Linked DNA regions of Homo sapiens: regions 1 and 2 are each linked to region 3. The links are contacts of gene promoters, found by promoter capture Hi-C in human tissues and cell types (Jung and others, 2019). All regions are on one chromosome and are shown on one strand. Each heading gives the region's core, a stretch centred on a gene start or on the middle of the fragment in contact. The rest is flanking DNA. Distances are from core to core; before and after follow the strand shown.

Region 1 (2,700 bases), core at 71-2,570, 340 kb before region 3:
AAATCACAAACCACAGACAAAACTGTATCCATTAAAGCTAACATGGCTCCGTCCCTAATGTGTCTGTTTGATGTTTCTGGAAGCCATTGTTAACAAATGTTGGTTGGTGACTCTGGCTCTCTTATGGTCCCTGAATAGGAAGCAATTGTTACTTCTGAAGAGCTGGGCCAGGATCTGGAGCATGTAGAGGTTTTACAGAAGAAATTTGAAGAGTTTCAAACAGATATGGCTGCTCATGAAGAAAGAGTTAATGAAGTGAACCAGTTTGCTGCCAAACTCATACAGGTAAATAGCAAAGTGCTGTATGCTTCTCACAACATTATTATGTTAACTTTTTAGTATATTCAGGATAAAATTTTGATGATTGGTCCCCTAATTTCTGAGTGAGCAAGTTTTTGTAAGCATGTCTGAGAGTTTTGTTTAGATGTGAGGCACAATACTGATTACTCCTAAATTGGAAAATGCTTTTCAATGTGTTGCCTTGGGCAGGAAGGGCAGAGTTCATTTGATCTGTTTCCTCTACCCACTTTTGGGTAGGGCTGGGTGAAGCTTTTATTGGACTGCTGAAGCTAGGTCTCAGGGTTTCTCAGACGAGGGTGTGGTGGTGAATGCTAAGTTAGTATTGGCAGATGTCCACCAATGCATTAGGGCTCTTGCCTTCCTTTTTTATTTGAAGCTTCCCTGGGCTCTCTTGGGAGCCTGGGAGAACCTTGTCGTGAATAGGCTCTCCACTCTGGCGCTGGAGCCCATTAAGAGGGAATGACAACCCTTCCCCAGTGCCCACGTGTACAATCCTGTAAGCTGCTTCCACTACGAGTCCAAAGGGTTCCAAAGACATCAAGTACTCGGAACCAGAGAGTTTTTACTTTTAGGGAAATTTGATTTGGGGGGTACAAATTTTAAGTGTATAAATCTGCTTATAGGCTGGTACTTGTTTCCATTTTCTGGCCAGTGATTAAGAGAAAGATACCCGGCATTCCTCAGAAATATCTCACCCTTCCACAGTGACAGATGTGTTGCTTTTCCAAACCCTAAGCTTTCCTGCGGTTGAGCTTGAGAAAAGTAGTCAGGCCAAACCCATGGTATCCCAGATGGATTCAAGAACCCTGAAATGCTTCATTTTATTACTTTGTATCATATTTTTTAAAACACCAAAATGTGGTTGGTAGGGAAGGATACTTTTAAAGAAATGTCTCTAAGCTTGATGCAGTGGCACCTGCCTATAGACCCAGCTACTCTACTCAGACTCAGGCTGACAAGACAGGATCACTTGAGACCAGCCTGGGTAACATAGCAAGACCCTGTCTCAAAAAAGAAAAAAAGAAATGTCGTCAGTCTAAAGCCAGGGACAAACTCTTGAGCCCCGAAAATTATGTTTATGTGCAAGAATGCTTAACAGCCTCATGAACATCTGAAATACCAAATTTTCAAGCAGTTAGGGTAGATGAGTACATTGATAAAGTTACCACACAGTTGTTGCCAAACTATTTATTAACATAAAGGTTTTTGGCACTTTTGCACATAACCACCTTATAGACTAACCACACTACTCCAAAAGATAGAGAATGGCTCTCCCCTTTTTACATAAGAAATAGAAACTCTTTGGAGTTGTAGTTCACTTTGTATCATGTTGACCATTATTTCTTGTGATTCTCTTCAGAGTGGTGATTTGCTGAGATGCTTCAAGGAACCAACCCCAGGGTAACTAGTTGGAGGAGCCAGAAGTTGTGTACAAATCCAGTCTCTTCTCTTCCTTGTTTAGGAGCAGCACCCTGAGGAGGAACTGATCAAGACTAAGCAGGATGAAGTCAATGCAGCCTGGCAGCGGCTGAAGGGCCTGGCTCTGCAGAGGCAGGGGAAGCTCTTTGGGGCAGCAGAAGTTCAGCGCTTTAACAGGTGTCAAGCCAGAGTGGGCTTTGGGGAATGGGTCTCAACCTGGAGGGGAGTTGTGAAGCACAGGGCATGTGCTGGTGAGCTGTCGAGGCTGACTAGGCCTTGGTCCCATGGGGTGTTCCTAGTTCTAGGGAGTCATCATTGCTGTGGATTAACTGGTGCCTTTGTTCTGTAGGGATGTGGATGAGACTATCAGTTGGATTAAGGAAAAGGAGCAGTTAATGGCCTCTGATGATTTTGGCCGAGACCTGGCAAGTGTTCAGGCTCTGCTTCGGAAGCACGAGGGTCTGGAGAGAGATCTTGCTGCTCTAGAAGACAAGGTGGGTTTTACAAGCAGCTGATTCTGTAAATAAGTTACCAAGGGTCAGGAGAATAGTTCTGACGGAGTTCATTTCTAGGTCAAAGCCCTGTGTGCTGAGGCTGACCGCCTGCAACAGTCCCACCCTCTGAGTGCAACACAGATTCAAGTGAAGCGAGAGGAACTGATTACAAACTGGGAGCAGATCCGCACCTTGGCGGCAGAGAGACATGCACGGCTCAATGATTCATACAGGTGCAAATAATGCTCCAGGTCTTAACCAGTATCATTTGGCTTCTTTTTTGGAAGCAGGAATAGCAGAGTTAAGGGTCTGTTCTGTGTTCTGTGAAAGTGTCAGGTATCACCTACAAATGCAAATCACTTCTTACCTATGTTCTCTCTGTTTGGAGACTGGCAACTGTATCATGTGTAGTATACGTATGGTATTTACAACTTCATAAATTCTTCTATTCTGCATCACTGCATTATGATTGATAGAATGGGAATGT
Region 2 (2,700 bases), core at 135-2,634, 310 kb before region 3:
CATGAGCCACCACGCCTGGCCAACAAAAGCTTTTTCATTTGAAGCTATCAAAGACTTAATTGTAGCTAGAACTTGTTATTCTGGAGGGTGAAAAGATCTTAATTATAAGCCTACTGACTTTTCCTCTGAGAAATTCGGACTTTTAAAAAAATAACAAGAAGTTTTTTAACACTTTGCCCAAAGACCTAGCCTCATTCAGTAGATCAGATTAACCCAAGATAACTTTCTGAGGCAAGAATTATGTCATTCTCTGTTTTCCTGGGCAGAAGATCTCCTTACCAGGTAATATAATAGCTATTTTTCTGGGGTGCTGGTTTCCAGGGACCTCATGTCTTGGATCAATGGAATACGGGGGTTGGTGTCCTCAGATGAGCTAGCCAAGGATGTCACCGGAGCTGAGGCATTGCTGGAGCGACACCAGGTGGGTGGACCTGCCTGCTGAGTAGCAAAGACGTGGCTGCTCTGCAGGGCCCTAGAGGCCTCATTCCCACCCTTTGTGGTGAGTCGGTGGTTGACGTCAGAGTGGGCATCTGCTGCCAGTTACCTAATCCCTTCCCTCCTTTTGGCAGGAACACCGGACAGAAATCGATGCCAGGGCTGGCACTTTCCAGGCATTTGAGCAGTTTGGACAGCAGCTGTTGGCTCACGGACACTATGCCAGCCCTGAGATCAAGCAGAAACTTGATATTCTTGACCAGGAGCGTGCAGACCTGGAGAAGGCCTGGGTTCAGCGCAGGATGATGCTGGATCAGTGCCTTGAACTGCAGGTGTGTGTGCTCCTGGTTTCTGACCAAGTGTTTCCTTGCTGAAGGGCCTCATTTTCTCACCTGCCTCTTGCCCTCTTTAGCTGTTCCATCGGGACTGTGAGCAAGCTGAGAACTGGATGGCTGCCCGGGAGGCCTTCTTGAATACCGAAGACAAAGGAGACTCACTGGACAGCGTAGAGGCTCTGATCAAAAAACATGAAGACTTTGACAAAGCGATTAACGTCCAGGTGAGGCCTCTGGACCATGGAGTTGGAGTCTGGATTTTTCCTGATTGACATCTGTTTCTTGGCTTATATAGTCACTGTTATATCTCCAAGGAATACCTGCGTTGTCTAAGAAAAATATGTACATAAATAATCTTTAAAACTTTATAGATTCTGGTATTTCTGAGATTTTAATAATGGGGGTGCCACAGGAAAAAAAAATATTATCAAAGGGATGGAAAACAAATGTGTGGGTAGGTAAGGGAATAATGAACAAACAACAAGGAAGATGTAAAACTGTTTGATTTATACGTCACTTTGCTGTAAATCTGACAGCATTTTCCTATTATCAGGCTTAATTTTGTTCTGTTCTGATATTCTAACACCTGCCCCACCTGAGTGACCTGGAGACTTCTTGAGTTAAACTCTACTCTAGTAATGAATGAAATCAAGCTTTCTTTTGGCATTTTACACTCTTGCTTCTAAAGTGTCAGTGTATTCTGATCCTGCCACCAGCTAGTTCTCAGTCACCCAAAATAACTATCCTTTTCTCAAGACTGGCAGTCCAGGCAGGGCCCAGCCACAGGCCCACCTTGATCTCATGCCTTTGTTTTCTGACAGGAAGAGAAGATTGCTGCTCTGCAGGCCTTTGCCGACCAGCTCATCGCTGCCGGCCATTATGCCAAGGGAGACATTTCTAGCCGGCGCAATGAGGTCTTGGACAGGTGGGTGTCCTGTGGCACTGACATAGTCACCAGCCCTGAGAGGATGCATCCCCTCATACGAAGGCCCAGGCCTGTTCTGTCTCCCCACTTCCTTCTCCACGGTAAGATATGCTCATGTTGGATCTCATGGTTTCACTCTTTCAGGTGGCGACGTCTGAAAGCCCAGATGATTGAGAAAAGGTCAAAGCTAGGAGAATCTCAAACCCTCCAACAGTTCAGCCGGGATGTGGATGAGATTGAGGCTTGGATCAGTGAAAAATTGCAAACAGCGAGTGATGAGTCGTACAAGGATCCCACCAACATCCAGGTAAGCTGAAGTGACTGGGTGTTGGTCTTGATGTAGCCTTATGTTATTGAGTAGATTTTGTTAAATAAAGCATTTATAAAACAATCTCCTTGCACCCATGGGAAGTCAGTGAGAAATATTTCAGTAAGCCCAGCCAGTGGGAAAGCCCTAGTCAAGTTTCAGAGCCATTTAAAAGTTGCCTTCCTCATTTGTCTCCATTAAAACTATTTCTGCTGTAATAAAAGTCTATAGAATCCCCCTTCTATTACTGTTCCCAAATGCTGAGCTTCCTGGGGGAAGTATGACAAAATGAGTTTCTATTTAATAGCTGATATGTGTGTCCACATCAGTGTACTGAACTCTTGTTCTTTTAATCTGTTTTTGTAGCTTTCCAAGCTGCTGGTAAGTTTTTAATTTTTTTAAGAGTTGTAGTTAAATGAGCTCCAGTATTTGTGTTACTCTGCGTAGATTATTGTTATTATTGTGGTCACACGGTTTGCTGGTGTCTCTTCATCCATCCTTTTCATTTCTAATCATCCATTACACTCCATTCAAGTGTCCCTGTGGGATGTGGCTTTTTCTGTTGTAATTAGCCTGCAACGCCTTACTCCCCCTTCTCTCCCCCAGTTTATCACTTAGGCAAATTCTGTACAGTGTTTGATTTGCGGGGCAGTAATTGACCATTTTCTTTCAAGGAGTGCTTCCTTTTGAAGATGGAA
Region 3 (2,700 bases), core at 201-2,700:
GAGGCCTGGGTGGCTGCTTGGGCACCTCCTCTACAACTGGACAGAGTCTATCCCTCCTCCCTCCACGGGGACTCTGACCCCTCCAGGTGAACTCAGGCCTGAGCCAAGATTCCCTCCCTCTTCTCCCCCTGCCATGGGCTGACAGGCTGAGCAGCTGGACTGTGACTGCCGGGCTGGGGCCTTCTTTTCTGTTTCCGTGGTGGAGGTCCCTCCCCCAGTTTGGTACCCTTCCCACCACCCCCCGACCCCACTCCCGCCCCCACCCTGGCCTTGAGGCTGTCCAGCGCCTGGAGCAGGAGAGTTCGATCTGGAGCTGGTTTACATTTGGAAAAAACCACCATGTAGAAACACCGCCCACCCACTTCCCAAAGTTGAGCAGAATGAACAGTTAGTGGGAGGCTGGGCCTCTCCCCTCCCCCTCCCCCACCCACCCAGGGCTCTCCACTCTGCCTAAAACCACTGTGGTGGTCTTCTCTCTGATTGTAACAGCAATTTTGGAAGCTCAAAAAAATTGTTTAAATTATATTCCACCCAGCTGGGCGCGGTGGCTCACGCCTGTAATCCCAGCACTTTGGGAGGCCGAGGCAGGCAGATCACAAGGTCAGGAGATTGAGACCATCCTGGCTAACGCGGTGAAACCCCATCTCTACTAAAAAATATAAAAAATTAGCCAGGCGTGGTGGCAGGCGCCTGTAGGCCCAGCTACTGGGGAGGCTGAGGCAGGAGAATGGCGTGAACCCGGGAGGCGGAGCTTGCAGTGAGCTGAGATTGCGCCACTGCACTCCAGCCTGGGTGACAGAGCGAGACTCCATCTCAAAAAAAATAAATAAAATAAAAAATAAATAAATAAATAATATTCCACTCAGAACAGCCCCTGCTAACATTTGGTGAACAACTTGTTCACCAGTTGGTAGGCACTTACTCAGCGCCAGGCCTGGTGCCAAGCTCTTTATCAGCTGCGAAGCATTCATCTTATTTACTGCTCACAGGGGATCCTACTGCTAGCCCCAAATTACAGACTGGGAAAGTAAGGCCTGAACATCTGGGACGCAAACACAGTCTGCTTCACTGAGTCTCTACTACAAGCCTTCTGTGGGGGCTCCCAGGGGAATGGCTGGCCCAGTCCGAGGGGACCTCAGTGTTCTTGGCACATGGTAGGCATCTGTCTTTGTTGGGCAGTTGCATCAGAAGGGTTAAGGACAGCTGGGAACACATCCTGCCTCTAGTGAACCTCGTGGTTCTGTCATCTGCCTGCCCCTCACCCAGCCTAACCCCTCTGAACCAGGAGCCTGAGCTGCACTTACTGCTCCCCCCTGCCCCCCGGACGGCCTGGACCAAGCAGCAGCTCCCAGAGCGGTGGCCCAGCAAACACGACTTGACTCGAGGCCAAGGCTCTTGAGGGCTGAGCAGTGTCCCCATGCACACTCCTGAAACACTTTGTCCCTTCGCCATTCAGAAGGCATCATTTTGGGGAAGGCAGCAGCCGGTTTTTCAGAGCCAGCGAGTGGCCCTGCCAGCTGCTGAGCAGGGCAAGCTGAGAAGGGTGGTGGTGTGCAAGTGTTATTCTCTCTTTTTGTTTTTGTTTTTGTTTTTTGAGATGGAGTCTTACTCTGTCGTCCAGGCTGGAGTGAGTGCCGTGGCATGATCTCGGCTCACTGCAACCTCCGCCTCCTGGGTTCAAGCGATTCTCCTGCCTCAGCCTCCCGAGTAACTGGGACTACAGGCACCTGCCACCATGCTCGGCTAGTTTTTGGTATTTTTATTTATTATTTATTTATTTATTTTGAGACCGAGTCTCGCTCTGTCGCCCAGGCTCTAGTGCAGTGGCCCAATCTCGGCTCACTGCAAGCTCCGCCTCCCGCGTTCACGCCATTCTCCTGCCTCAGCCTCGCGAGCAGCTGGGACTACAGGTGCCCGCCACCACGCCCGGCTAATTTTTTGTATTTTTAGTAGAGACGGGGTTTCACCGTGTTAGCCAGGATGGTCTCGATTTCCTGACCTCGTGATCCGCGCGCCTCTGCCTCCAAAGTGCTGGGATTACAGGCCCGAGCCGCCGCACCCGGCCTGCAGGTGTTGTTCTGACCCCAGCTCCACTGTGCCAGCCCGACTTGAGATGCCAAGTATCTTGGGCCTGAGGGTGGGTAACAGGAAGCATCTCTCTCTCCTCAGCCCCTTCCTCCTACTAAGATACCCCATGTCTCCTACTTTCGTCTGAGCTGCAGATGGATGCGTTAATTCCCTTCCATAATCCTCCCAGGACCGAGAGGGTTTCAGATCGGTGCTGGGAGGGGCCCAGATAGTTCTCCCCAGGACCTCTTCCACCTTTGGAATGCCCATTACCTGGAGAAGGGGGGTGCCGCACATCCCCCAGACCAACCCTGCATCCCATTCTATCCAGATTGAGGCCTAGAGAGAGGCAGGCGTTCCTCAGAGTCACAGGGAATGGCGGCGCCTGGACTGGGACTCAGCCCAGCTGCTTGGCCTGACCCTCTCACAGCATAATTTCCCGGCACCTGGTAAGCAGTGGTGGGGGGTGGTTTCCAGAAGAAACACAGAGGAAGCAGATAAAATCCTTGGAGATGGGAAAGGGCAAATCCTGGATTAGTTGTGGGGGTGGGGGAGATTAGCCTGGAGGTCACAGGCTGATCTGGCTGTGTCTAGGGAAGGAGGGTTGGGTGGTGGGACCGGGTTTTCTCCGGG

Evidence for each region. The method cuts DNA at HindIII sites, captures the fragments that hold promoters and counts their contacts. A contact is called where the count stands out against the background at its distance.
Region 1: a contact is called between a fragment that was not itself captured here and the fragment with the promoter of PHYHD1 in region 3, in 4 of the 25 tissues and cell types used here (adrenal gland, dorsolateral prefrontal cortex, spleen and 1 more).
Region 2: a contact is called between a fragment that was not itself captured here and the fragment with the promoter of PHYHD1 in region 3, in 4 of the 25 tissues and cell types used here (hippocampus, lymphoblastoid cells, pancreas and 1 more).

Annotation. Positions count from the first base shown.
Region 1 is chr9:128,575,061-128,577,760 of GRCh38, forward strand. It overlaps SPTAN1 (spectrin alpha, non-erythrocytic 1), which reads left to right. Exons shown (of 57, transcript NM_001130438.3): 5 at 139-285; 6 at 1,763-1,896; 7 at 2,069-2,213; 8 at 2,292-2,446. Among named protein-coding and RNA genes, the nearest start is that of SPTAN1, 24 kb to the left of the region's middle. The HindIII fragment of the contact is 4,698 bases long and covers 1-2,700 here.
Region 2 is chr9:128,607,283-128,609,982 of GRCh38, forward strand. SPTAN1 (spectrin alpha, non-erythrocytic 1) reads left to right here. Exons shown (of 57, transcript NM_001130438.3): 32 at 322-421; 33 at 570-767; 34 at 848-994; 35 at 1,592-1,695; 36 at 1,840-2,002; 37 at 2,369-2,383. Among named protein-coding and RNA genes, the nearest start is that of DYNC2I2, 48 kb to the right of the region's middle. The HindIII fragment of the contact is 5,536 bases long and covers 1-2,700 here.
Region 3 is chr9:128,919,532-128,922,231 of GRCh38, forward strand. PHYHD1 (phytanoyl-CoA dioxygenase domain containing 1) reads left to right here and starts at 1,451. Exons shown (of 13, transcript NM_001100876.2): 1 at 1,451-2,137; 2 at 2,399-2,516. The HindIII fragment of the contact is 13,888 bases long and covers 1-2,700 here.